Linked DNA regions of Homo sapiens: all the other regions are linked to region 2. The links are contacts of gene promoters, found by promoter capture Hi-C in human tissues and cell types (Jung and others, 2019). All regions are on one chromosome and are shown on one strand. Each heading gives the region's core, a stretch centred on a gene start or on the middle of the fragment in contact. The rest is flanking DNA. Distances are from core to core; before and after follow the strand shown. Region 1 overlaps DTD1 (D-aminoacyl-tRNA deacylase 1). Region 2 holds the start of SCP2D1 (SCP2 sterol binding domain containing 1). Region 3 has its middle 59 kb from the start of SCP2D1-AS1.

Evidence for each region. Contacts are between HindIII fragments. The study calls those that stand out against the background at their distance.
Region 1: a contact is called between a fragment that was not itself captured here and the fragment with the promoter of SCP2D1 in region 2, in 2 of the 25 tissues and cell types used here (IMR-90 fibroblasts and dorsolateral prefrontal cortex).
Region 3: a contact is called between a fragment that was not itself captured here and the fragment with the promoter of SCP2D1 in region 2, in 2 of the 25 tissues and cell types used here (heart left ventricle and lymphoblastoid cells).

The regions. Positions count from the first base shown.
Region 1 is chr20:18,735,971-18,740,197 of GRCh38, forward strand. The region is part of intron 4 of DTD1 (D-aminoacyl-tRNA deacylase 1); the gene reads left to right. Among named protein-coding and RNA genes, the nearest start is that of DTD1-AS1, 39 kb to the left of the region's middle. The HindIII fragment of the contact is 5,840 bases long and covers 1-4,227 here.
Region 2 is chr20:18,811,497-18,815,788 of GRCh38, forward strand. It overlaps SCP2D1 (SCP2 sterol binding domain containing 1), which reads left to right and starts at 2,287. Exons shown (of 1, transcript NM_178483.3): 1 at 2,287-2,882. The coding sequence starts at 2,320. The coding sequence ends at 2,790. The region is part of intron 2 of SCP2D1-AS1 (SCP2D1 antisense RNA 1); the gene reads right to left. The HindIII fragment of the contact is 11,706 bases long and covers 1-4,292 here.
Region 3 is chr20:18,886,823-18,891,265 of GRCh38, forward strand. No RefSeq gene overlaps it. Among named protein-coding and RNA genes, the nearest start is that of SCP2D1-AS1, 59 kb to the left of the region's middle. The HindIII fragment of the contact is 4,771 bases long and covers 1-4,397 here.

The DNA.
Region 1 (4,227 bases), core at 1,107-3,606, 75 kb before region 2:
TGTAAGTGTATCTTATGTGTGGCCCAAGACAATTCTTCTTCTTCCAATGTGGCTCAGGGAAGCCAAAAGGTTGGACATCCATACTCTAGAGTAATCCTTCCTTTCAGGGATTTCCGGGCACCTGTGTTCTGAAAGGACTTGCCCATAAATCAGTTTTCTAGAACCCCTTCATGGCTAAATCTAGTGCTTAATGGCCTGGTAAACTTGGGTGTTCCTGAGAGAGATATGGGGGTGATGGCAACAGCAGACATCGTGTTCCTGTGGGCTAGGTTTTAATCCTTCAAGCCTAGGTAAGTGCTGCTGGTTGCAGGCAGCTCACCTTGTCTGATTTTCCCCTGGAGTGAGTGGAATCTTCAGGTGGCCTAGAGTCCAACTGGACACAAAGTGCTCAGCTCTCCAATTTGTTCACAAAGGTGCGCCCTCTGCCTCATTAGTGTCCATGGGAGCCTGAACTTCCTTATTCATTTCATGTTCTGTGTCATCGTCACCCTGGATCATCCCACAGTGTGAAGGGATCTGTCTTTCAAGGTGCTTCATGAGTGATGCTATGTGTGTGAAGGAACAGAGGCAAATCGCAATTCCCTGTTGATCTGGTGCTTTGCACGACTCAGGGCGTGTGCACCTTGCAGCCACCCCCTCTCCTTGCCCTGGGCATATCATGTACAGAAAAACAGACCTTGACTGGCTGCCCAAGAGCCTCTGTTTTTTTCTTCCCAGTGGCCTGCTGCCTGCTTAAGAGACAGATACCCCAACTCCGAAGGCAAGCCCCTCACCTGCCATTGCCAACACCTATGCCCTCTGAGTGCTGGTGAAGAGTTGTTCAGTTTTGCTACTCAGCTGGCATAAAAGCTTGAGCCTCTGTGCCCTCTGAGGCTATTGCCTGGCCTGATCTTGCAAACAAAACCTGTCCTGTCCATTCATTTCTTCAGTCATTCATCTGTGGCCACACGAGCCACATCACTGTGTCCATCTCAGCTAATGGGTGGCTCGGGCTCCTGCCCAATGCCTGTGTCCAAGCCTGCCCTGCTGCCTTGCCGTGCCGGTCCTGTCTGAAGTCTCTGATGATGATTTTCACTGGTGTTGCCTCAACTCCTCTGCCACTCCCGACAATAATGCTTCAGTTCTGCCTAGGGTGCCCCTCATTCGGCCCTTCCCTCCTGTCACCCTACTCTCATCTGGGCCTCTGTTCTTCTGCCTTTGCCTGTGTGGCCCTAACATCCTTGTCTTCAGTCATCTCTGTGTGTTGCTTTCTGCTCAGACACACTGCCCTGCCATGTGCCATCTGCCACGGTGTGCCTGGGAGTGAGTAGACACTCGGGTGATGCCAGTCCCTGGAGTGCCCCTGCCTTCTCACCCCCAACCAGGACCTGACTCCCACTCCCAGCACAGCTTTCGTTGGCCCTCCCCAAACTTGGGGCTTGCCTGCCCTGGAGACCCCCCCATACTTTGGCCACCCAGTGGCCCCACTAGGATGTGCGGATGCTAACTGCATTCTTAGGCCATCACCTGAGGGCTTGGTCCTGAGTGTCCATGTCCCATTTGCTGGGCTTCCCCTGCCTTGGGCTGCCTTGGGTCAGCAGGTGGGCCCGGGTCAGACTCTGCTCCCTCACTCTGATCTGCTTCTCCCACTGCCACTGACAGGCACACAGGGCCCTTTCCTGAGGCCAAGTGCCAGGGACATCAGAGAGCCAACACTAGGCTTGTGTCACTTCTGAGGCTTCCCCACTCTGCTCTTAGCCAGCCCTATTACTGGTTGAGTTAAACTGTTGCCGGTAATTGTATTTGATCCTCTGGCTTCTTCAGCCTTCGGGACAGAAAAGGATGGACGAATTGAGTCCTGCAGCAGCATGTTGCTAAACCACCAAGGAGCTGGACCAAGGTTAGGACCAGTTTCTCTTTAATTTGGCAAATGGAGATGGCTCTGAGGTCCCTTTATGCTTTCTACCCATGAAGACAAGTGTGCGGCTACAGAGGGCAACAGCAGAATGGTGGGGGCTCGAAGCACCCCCAGGTTCCTCTGCTTTACCCCTAATACACATCAAGTGCTTAGAGCAGGCCTGGCTTCGTGTGAGTGGGGATTGCCAATTATTTTTCCAGTGGACAGTCAGCCTCAGGAAGGCAGGGCTCTGCTTGGTTTTCTGCTGTGTCCTTGGCACCTAGAGTAGGTATAGTCAGTGCCCAACAGTTAACTGCTAAGTGAAGTTAATAGATTAAGCAAGAGAGGTCATGTGGCTCCCTGGGAAGAATGCGGGGTTTGGCGTCTGGAGGCCTGGGTGTGGTCCCCCTCAGCCGCTAGCAGGCTGCAAAACCTTAAGCAAGTCACATGACCTTGCTGGGCGTTGCTGTCTTGTTTATGTCCATGGGCATGTGGTGTAAGATTTTGCTTTCAACTTCAAGTGCCACAAACCTACATGAGGGTGGCTTATAACGTGAGGGTGGCTTAAACAGTAAGGAGCCTGGTTGCCTCCCCTAAGGGGAAAGCTGGTTCAGCTGGCTCAACTCTGCCGGGGCTCTCCAGAGACTTCTGTGCACCTCTGGATGTCCCCTCCTCGTTTTGAGAGCTGCACCATTCCGAAGCTCCGTTTCCTCCCCTGACTATGGCCAAGGATAGGAAGGAAGGCAGTGTTTCCTCTCACCTGTGTTTATTAGGGAGGGAAGCCTTTTTCCAAAGACCCTCTGCAGTCCCCTCAGGTCTTGTTGGCTATGGTTTGTGTCACATGCCATGTGACAGGAGAACCAGACATTGCCACCTCTGAAGTAGGAGACTCCTGCCAGCAGGGAGGGAGGAAGGGGCTGGGAAGATGAGTAGCTGCGGTGTAGGCAGCTGGCAGTGGCTTCTCTGTGGGACATTGATGATCATTCAACTACTATCAGGTTATTAAGAGCAAACAAGGTCACATAGGTGGAAATGCTAAGTGGGGATCCCTAACAGGTGACACATATGCACCCCATCAACATTATGGTCCAGATACATGTTTGAAAAGAAAGTGCGAATGTTCTTAGGTAGCGCTTGTCCTCTGCAGTGTGTCCTCAGGCCTTAGGTGGAGCTTGTCCTCTGCAGTGTGGCCTCAGGCCTTAGGTGGAGCTTGTCCTCTGCAGTGTGTCCTAAGGCCTTAGGTGGAGCTTGTCCTCTGCAGTGTGGCCTCAGGCTCCACCCTGCCATATTGTCTTACTCTTGGCCACTTAACTCATTTTGCTTCCTGGCTGGTCTCTCAAGGCATTTAAGTTTGCAGGCCCTGAAATCAGGCATTATAAGATCAATGTTCAACTAGTTCATTCTTAGATTGTGCAATTAGAGCTTGGGCATCTTAATTAAAAAGAAAAACGCTTATGTTTTCAGTGGATTTAATCATGAATTGGGTGAGTCTGGATCTGCATATTCCAGTCCCCCCTCTTTTGGCACACGTGTTCCCAAGCTTCACTGTGAAAGGTGCAGGCTGACCACAGGATCATCACCTGGCCCCTGGTGGTGTCTGTGTGTCCAGGGCAGCTTTTGGAAGGCTGGGTTTCTCTCTAAGGCGCTAAAGCCAGCATGGTTTGGACAGTCTCTCCCTTACAATGTGGGCTTTCTTGCCAGTTGATTAAAAACAAGCAAACAGACAAAAACCCAGAAGTACTCTATTTCAGTGTTTGTAGATTGTATGTTCACAGACCTGTAGTGGTTTATATTCTCCTTGACATGCATCTCCTCTTAATTTGAAAGCTGTTGACATTTTGCTTGAGCTCATATGCAGTACCAGTTTCTTTTCTTCTTCTTTTTTCTCATTTGTTTCCTTAAAAAAAAAAATCCAGCTGCTTTCTTGCTTTGAGATGTAAATTCCACATTTTGGCTGCATTGGATTCCAAGTTTTCCCAGAAAAGGCTTAAATTTATTAGGTTAGTTCACAATGTTCTCACAGAGAACTTGAGTTTGCGGCATGGAGCCATATGTGGTTGGGTTGTTTTAAGATAAATACTGTAAGAGAGTCAGCATTACATCACTGGCAGAAATGTGGGCTGTGCCTGTCATTTAAATAGTTATCACATGTGATTTAAAAGCTGGCTCTCGGTGGGAGGGGATAGGGTTGGAGGGGAAGGTCAGATGGATGTTTCTGCATCTGTGGTGTCTGTGCCTCTGCCTCAGCACAGAGTCGAATGACACTACGAGGAGCTGAGAAGCCTCCAGAGGGCTGTGCTAATTGGGGTTACTCCCCATCGTCCTCTCTGGATCTGGTTCTCAATAGCATA
Region 2 (4,292 bases), core at 1,037-3,536:
TCAGTTCTTTGTTGACTGCTTATAGTGAACTTGCTGGGGAATTCCTGCCCTCCTCATTTTAAAATCTCTGTGCTGATGTTGTCCATACCTGGTGACCTCATGGCAAGAACATGGTTTTGGAAGACACTGGGCTTTGTTTAACTGCTCAGCTTTGATAACAGCAGCTCATCCATCTTTGCAAATGTACTTTGAAGCCTTTTTCATTCTTCTGCAACATTCCCAGAAAGAACGAAGTTTCCAGCAACTCCATATAACAGAGCTTTGCTTACACATAAGAGCAGTTTGGTATAGGAAAGGATACAGGCTCCAACTTGATGAAGCTCCCTATGGCCAAATCTGGGACAATTTAGCAAGGAAATAAACAATGATAATAGTAGATTATGACCCACAGAATAAACAAATACCCACAAGTCCATGCTGAGATAAATAAATAATTGAACAAATAAAGAAATGGGAGAGAAGAGGGCAATTTTCCTTAGAGCAGAATTCCAGTTATTAAATCTCAAGGGAGTAAGAAGCATAGAAGATGACTGCTGGGCCTACCTCACACTGATTGCTGCAGGGATGGGCCATGGATGGATGCAACAAGAGTAGGCCAGAGGATGATGCAAAACAGGGCATTTGCAAGGTCTCAAGGCACCTCCCCTAAAGATACTAATCACAGAGGGAAAAACAGTAACTCTACAGTGCAGAAGCCTGAAGGAGCCGCTTTAACCAAGTGATCAAGGACAACATCGGCAGAAATGGGACATAACATCATGGACGCCTGCTATGGCACAGTGGGAAGAGCACAGGTCACCTCTGTGGCATCCTTGTCCCAAATGCATAACCTCCACCTAACCAGGAGAAAGCATCAGGCAGTCCTCAAAGGAGGGACATTTTTGGGAATAACTGGCCAGTATTCAAGTGTCAAGGTAACGATAGACAAAGATTGAAGAGCTGCCCCAGACTGCAAGGCACTAGGGAGACCTGCAACCAAATAGATATGGTCTCACATGGTCTGTAGATTAGTTAGTAGTCATGAACCAATGTGAATTTCTCAGATTAGATCACTGTACTGTGATTATATAAGATGTTAGTTTTGGGGAAAGCTGGGAGAAGGTTAAACAGGTACTATTTTTGCAAACTTTTTATAAGACTGAAATTATTTCAGAATAAAAAGTAAAGAAATAAACAGGTGGACTTTGGAGTCATTCTGCCTCTCCTCAAATCTGGCTACACTACTTACTAACTGTGTGACATTGGGCAAGTTACTTCATTTCTCCCCTCAGTTTCCTTATATGTAAAATGGGGATAAAAAGAATACCTATCTGGGAGGCCGAGGTAGGTGGATCACTTTAGCCCAGGAGTTTGAGACCAACCTGGGCAGCATGGTGAAACCCCATTTCTACAAAAAGTACAAAGATTAGCCAGGTGTGGTGGCACACGCCGTATTCCCAGCTACTTGGGAGACTGAGGTGGGAGGATCAAATGAGCCCAGGAGGCAGAGGCTGCTGTGAGCAGAGATCGCGCCACTGTACTCCAGCCTGGGTGACAGAGCAAGACCTTGTCTCAAAAAAAAAAAAAAAAAAGAAAAAATACCTATCATAGAGGGTTGTAATGAGAGTTAAATGTGTTAATACATGTGTAGTACTTAGAACTCTGCACCTTGGCCCAGAGCAAGGGCTATACTATTACGTGTAATTATCAGAGGAGACTGGCAGCATCTTCTGATCTTAGGGACATTTAATCTCTCTGTGTGTGTCTCACTGTGCTTCTGGAAAGTTTCTGATGCAGGCTCCTGGACTGATTCCTTCTCCAATCAATTACTCTGGCCTAAAAGCATTTCCCTTTCTACCAGCAGCCAGATAAAGCCAAATTCAGCACTAGGATCTGTAGTATTAACTTAAGTATTACCCACTTAATGGGACTTAAGTGTTACCTAGTTTTAGAGGAATAAGAATAACTTCTGTCTCACGTTGGGTTTCACTGAGGAGATGTCTGCATTGGAAAGACAGAGCTCATGTCACTAAAGAAGCTTCTGGGGCCAGTTTCCCTTAACCCCATTGCAGCCTGCAGACCTTTTGGGCTTGCAGGACCAACATCCCTGATTGGTTTGGGAGGGGCGTGTGTGTGTGGATCTGCCTCACAATGGCCTGTCTGAGCCCTTATCTGAGGTCACACGTTATCATTTGTTTGGCCAATAAGACTGTAGCACACACACCAGCTTCAGTCCCCACTTGGCCTTACCTTTGATGTCACAATCTGACCTGTGGGTATTAATCTGGTCACAGCTGCTCACAGACTAGATGGCAAGGTCCAGGGGACTAGCACAGGAAGATGTGGAAGAGAAGTGACCATCAACCCAAGATCAAAGCAGAGGATGGACCTCTGGTGGGCCAGTTCGAGGTTCTGGGTTCAGTTCCAGAACCTGCCATGCCACATCCTCTAGAGCTGTCAGAATTTGAGAGCTTCCCAGTGTTTCAGGACATTAGGCTTCACATCAGGGAAGTGGGAGCTCAATTGGTCAAGAAAGTCAATGCCGTCTTTCAGCTGGACATCACCAAAAATGGGAAGACCATTTTGCGGTGGACCATTGATCTGAAGAATGGTTCTGGGGACATGTATCCGGGACCTGCCAGGCTCCCAGCAGACACTGTCTTTACAATCCCGGAGTCTGTCTTTATGGAGCTGGTTTTGGGCAAAATGAACCCGCAGAAGGCTTTCCTTGCCGGAAAGTTCAAAGTGAGTGGCAAGGTTCTGCTTAGCTGGAAGCTGGAAAGGGTTTTCAAAGACTGGGCTAAATTTTAAGCATGCAAAAATACCAAGGAAGAACTTCTCTTCGATGATAATGTCGAGTGGAAATCATGCTTAATCTGAAGATTAAAGTAAAAAGTATCCAATATTTTTACTCAAATTCTTCCTATTCAAGTTTAATTGATTTTCCTGTTGATGGGTAAATTTTCAGGGAGGGTTCTGAAGCAGTAAAAAGCGTTGTAGTGCATCAATTAGAATCTTTGTCTTTTTCTCTTTTTTTAGCTCCATTTATGCCCTTTATGCTCCATTTATGCCAGGGTGAGAGCCACGTGTAAAGAAATGGGTGATTATGATCATTGGAATTAAATACTCCAATGATTGTGTTCTTGAGACATTTTTCCTTTTCTAAAAAAGTTTGATGTTTTGGGGAAAGAAGTGATAACTATCATTGTGCAGGTGTGCATTCTGCATGGTAACTTGATTCCATGAGGAAACTTTACTATGAGACTGTGGGGTGCTAAGGGAATGGGGCACCACAGGTCTGTGGGTGGAACCCAGGCAATAGAGGGGATGGTGCTGTTGGTGTATTATAATTTCTGATGGTTTCAATTCCAAGAAACTTGAAGGGCTTGGGAGGTGTTCTAGGCCAGTGGTTCTTAACTGGAGCATGCATCAGAATCACCGGAAAGGTTGGTTAAAGTCTGGATTGCTGGGCTCCATCTCAGAGCTTCTACTCAGGAAATCTGGGCTGGAGAGAATGCACATTTCTAACAAGTTCCCAGGGGATGCTGATGGCACCACCCTTAGAGAATTCCAGCTCTGCTTCACTTCATGCCAAAGCTCTCAGTATTGACTGTAACTATTCTATTCTAGGCCAATGAGATGGTGCCATTAATTAAAGGATCTCCCAGAGACAGACCCCACAGCCCTCTGTGAGCCATTTATAAAGTATCCATGCTGTCAGGAGCTTGTGCATTGAACATTTTACAAAATCAGAGGGCAGCCTGGGAGATTTCCCTTCCGGAAGCTCCCTTCACATGTTGTCTGGGAGGATAGGATGAAGTCTGTTGCAGCTGATGCAAACTCCTTGTGGGTGAGTGTGTGTGTGTTCTTGGTTCACATGTGGTTTGTGTGTACCTTTGACTTGTGGGCTAAATATACACAGTGTGGATACTCTGAAACCTAGAGGAAAGTTTCATCACAACTGCCATGCTCAAACACCTACACAGTGTGGACACTCTGAAACCTGGGTGGAAGTTTCATCACAACTGCCATGCTCAAATACACGCCTACCAAATAATCCCACCATTCTGTTCTTGGGTATTTTGTTAAGAGAAAAGAAAGCATATGTACAAGCATAAAATAAACACTCGCATGCATGTGAATGTTCATGGCAGCTGTGTTGGGAGTAGTCCTAAACTGGAAACAAGCCACATGTTCATCAACAGGTGAATGGGTGGACAAATTGTGCGGTGTCATACCATGGAATATTACTTAGCCATGAAAAGGAAGAAATGATTGGCATACACACAAATGACAATGTGGATAAATGGCAA
Region 3 (4,443 bases), core at 762-3,261, 75 kb after region 2:
GACAGCACATATATCTCTCCTGATTGTGCACAAGCCAGACATTGCTAATTGGTCATGCAATGTCCTTCCCACTATATTTGGATACACTCTTAGACTCTTTCTGAATCCAGAATTCCAGGCAGCCATTACAAATTAGCCAGGATTAGCACTCAAGATGAAACTGATTAGTCATCTTGGCACTAGATGACATTCGAGTTTCCTTCCAGCTCTGCTATTCTATGGTTTTCTGGTTTTAAAAGCTGGGTTGCATGGATCTCATCCTGCAGGCTGTTACTTGAGGATGATCCCAAAGGTGGAACTGGCAGCATAATTTGGAATGACCAGAGCATTCATGGGGCTCAGAAATTTCTCTAAAAATTTCTTAGCTGTCCTAAGTTTGGCTGTACATTAGAGTCACATTGGCAGTTTTTTCAAAAATTGAGGTAAAAATATATCATACATACTATAAAGTGGAACATTCTAATCTTAGCTGTACAGTTTGATGGATTTTTACGTACATAACATCTGTGTAACCACTACCTTAATCAAGACATAGAATATTTCCAGCACTCCAGGAGGAGACCTTATGTTCCTTCCTATCAACACTTGAAGGTAACCATTGTTCTGTTTTCTGTCACCGCAGATTAATTTCACCTGATCTTCAATTCTGTATAACATGTGTGGTCTTTTGTGTCTGGCATCTTTTGCTCAACCTAATGTTTTTGAGATTCATGTGTGTTGTTGAGTGCATTGATAGTTCTTTTATATTGCTGCTTAGTATTTCATTGTTTGAATATGTTACAGTTTATCCATTCTCCTGTTGATGGATGACTGAGTTACTTCCAGGTTTGGACTATTACTAGTAAAGCTTCTCTGAACATTCTTACACTTATCATTTTGTAGACCTATGTTCTCACTTCTCTAAGAGTGAAATTGCTGGGTCTGAGGGTACATGTAGAGTCAATCCTCATTATTCATGGATACTGTATTTGCAAATTTGCCTGTTTGCTAAAATATATTTGTAGCCTCAAAAATCAATACTCATGGCACTTTCACAGTCATTGATGGACATGTGCAGAGAGGTGAAAAATTTGAGTCAATTGATGTGCACATTCCCAGTAAGCCTGAACATGGCAAGGCCCCGCCTTCTTGTTTCAGTCCTCGTGCTGTAAACTGCTGTGTAGCTAGTGCCCTGTATTTTGCATTTCTGTATGTTTTTGAAGAGTGATTTCACTGTTTTAAATGCCAGCACCAAGTGTAGTGCTGAAGTGCTATGTAGTGTTCCTAAGCATAAGAAGGCTGGGATGTGCCTTTTGGAGAAAATACATGGGCTAGATAAACTTTGTTCCAGGCATTAGATTAATATGAATGTTATCAACAATATAAATTAAGTAAGAGGTCTTTAAACATAAACACATGTAAAACAAGGTTATGTATTGATTGGCTAAGTAAAGTCTTTTTCTTAAATTTGAGACAGTGTCTCACTCTGTTGCTGCTGGAGTGCAGTGCTGAAATCACTACTCACTGCAGCCTCAGCCTCCCGGGCTCAAGCCCTCCTCCCATCTCAGCCTCCCTAGTAGCTGGGACTACAGGCATACATCACTGCCTCTGGCTAATTTTCTAAAAAAATTTTGGTAAAGATGGGGGTCTCTATGTTGCCCATGCTGGTCTTGAACTCCTGGACTCAAGCAATTCTCCTACCTCAGCCTCCCAAAATACTAGGATTACAGCCATGAGCCACCGCGCCTGGCTAGCTGACCAAAATCTTGTGATCAAGGGCTGGCAGGCATCTAATCCTGCAGTTCCCCTAGGAGCAGTGGTTCAGTAGTCACCAATTTGATGTTCACTGTGACTTTATAGAACATATACTACTGCGAATAATAATAGACTGTATGTTCAACTTTAATGCCTAATAGTTTACTAACATGATCGTATGATCTAGGGAGCTTTAAAAACTGCCCTTGGTCAGGCTATGCCTAGACCAATTAAATTTGCATTTCTGGTGGGGGACCCCAGGGTAGGCGTCTTCAAGCTGCTCAAGTGGACCCACTCTACAGCTGATGTTGACCATCACGGATCGAAATATAGGGAGAGAAGACAGGGAATAACAACAGAGTGCAGCCTGTGCATAAAGCTGTCACTCAATAAAAAATGGTCAATTTTACTTAATATGCTCTCTTTGGTTTCTTTTTATTCAGGCTTTTATTCTCTTTTCTTTACGGATGGTTCATGCACATAAAAACATACAATCATGGAAAAAGCAATCTCTTGCCTGGAAAATAAATGACAAGAACTACCCTCATACCAAGGTGAAACTCTTACTCACAGACCTGGGCTTGATTATAAAGAACAAACAATGGCTTGGCAAACAGAATCACCTACCAGACATATGAACATTTATTATCACCTATGATTCTGCGCAAAGGGAGGGAGGAAATGTCTGTGTAGTAATCAGAAAGAAACTGCAATGGAAAACAAAGGAGATGATTGATTGCCAGATGCGAACGAACAGCTCGTTGTCATCAGGAAATCAGTATCTCCTACTCACAAAACTTGCAGGGCTAATTTCTGTGGTAGTCTGCACAAATTTAGCCAAGAAAATCAAATTTCCACTATCCCGAGAAGGTTAGCTCTGTTGTTGAAATTATTATAATCACTTAGTTTAAGGGGTGAGTTTTTAAGAACCACTTCTCCTTTACCAAGGCAGACAGAGCTGTCAAAGGCACCCAGCTTACCTGGTCCTCAGGCACCATATGAAGGTACTTAGGTATTTACCTCCCGGATGGAAAACGCCAACCTTTAGCACTCAGAATTGAATTGGAAATTGCTGAAGGTGTGTCTGAATTGGCCAGTGGTTCTCTAAGTGCGGTTTCTGGACAAACAGCATCAGCATTAAGTGGGAACTTGTTAGAAATGGGAACATTTGGGATCCACTCCGGTAAGGTTGTCAGAAAAAATACAGGATGCTCAGGAAAACTTGAGCTTCAGATAAGCAATAATGACTTCTTTTTTTTTTTTCTTTTTGTATAAGTATGTCCTATGCAATATGTGGGCCTAAATACTAAAAATAATGTTGTTCAACTGAGATTCAAACTTAACTGGGAATCCTATTTTTATGTGTAAATCTAGTAACCCTACACCCTACACCCCAGACCTATGGAATCAGAAACTCCTCGGGGTGCGGCTCAGTAAGTTGTGGTTCAATGAGACTTCCAGGTGATTCTGATGCTAGCTGAAGCTTGAGACCCAGTGCTCTAGTTTTAGTTCCCATCTTGCTATTGATGATAGCTCATTATCTTGCTCCCTTTGTAATTCACGTTGGTCAGGGCCCCAATTGTAAAGTGTCATGAATTGACCTCTCCAGATACAGGTGTGTGCTTCAGGGCTCACATTCCCTGGTTTCTGGCATCTGTGCCCTTTGCAGTTCACTGCCGATGCATGAGACCTCTCACCAGACAAATGGTGAGGCTGCCCGTCTCTGACCCATGGCAACCATGGGAACAATCTCCTTTGCCTCCATTGCTGCCACACTACAGTAGCTGTTTGGTTTTCTTACCTCTAAAAGTCCACCAAAGACTTGTGCCACCTGGATAAAGATATGATTAATTAAACAATGCCATCCCAGGCCTCTTTCCACAGCAGCAAATGCCACTTGACTATAGGAACCCATTAACGCAGAGCATCTGAGCAGGGTAGGTCCTGAGTGAAATAATTAGAGTCTGCATAATGGTGATAACAGTACCAATAACCATTTGTTGATCACTTGCTCTGTACAAAGCATTGTATAAGTATGTCCTATGCAATATTTGTAATTAATATTTAATCTTCATGATAACTGTGAATGCAGAACTATTTTCATCATTTTAAGCTAAGGAAGCTAAGACTTGGCAAGGGCATGTAACTTGTTTATAATCTCACAACTATTTAATAGGAAATAGATGAGCTAAAACATGAACTCCTATTTGTCCAACCCCACAGCTGGTGCTCTAAACCATAATGGCTATTGATTTCTTTTGGGAAGAAAGTTCTGTGAGAACCAGTGCCAGGGTAGAAAACCTGAACTGTAACTGATGAACTGATGGGAGCTCAGTGTGGATAAGTCTGAGAACTAAAAACTCCAGGGGGATCCAGATATGAGAGGCCTTCATACTTTTGTAAATTTTACTTCCTGGAACTCTACTAGATTCTTACAGTGAAGATTAGAGAAAAAAAAATCTTGAGTTTCTGGCATGGGTAGTCAGAATGCCAGAGCATTCACTTCTCAACAAGGCCTGCCCTCAAGAGGAACTGTTTTGCCAGAGCCTAACCTATTGGTGTTTCATGAGAGATGAATTGACCTAGGGGAAGACAAATGCCCCACCCCAGCTTTCTTTAGCCATCCTGTACCACCCTGGGGGTGAAAAAAACCTGAGAAGCACTTGTAAAGTGTACAGTCAATGATTATAGTTTATATATAAGTGAAAT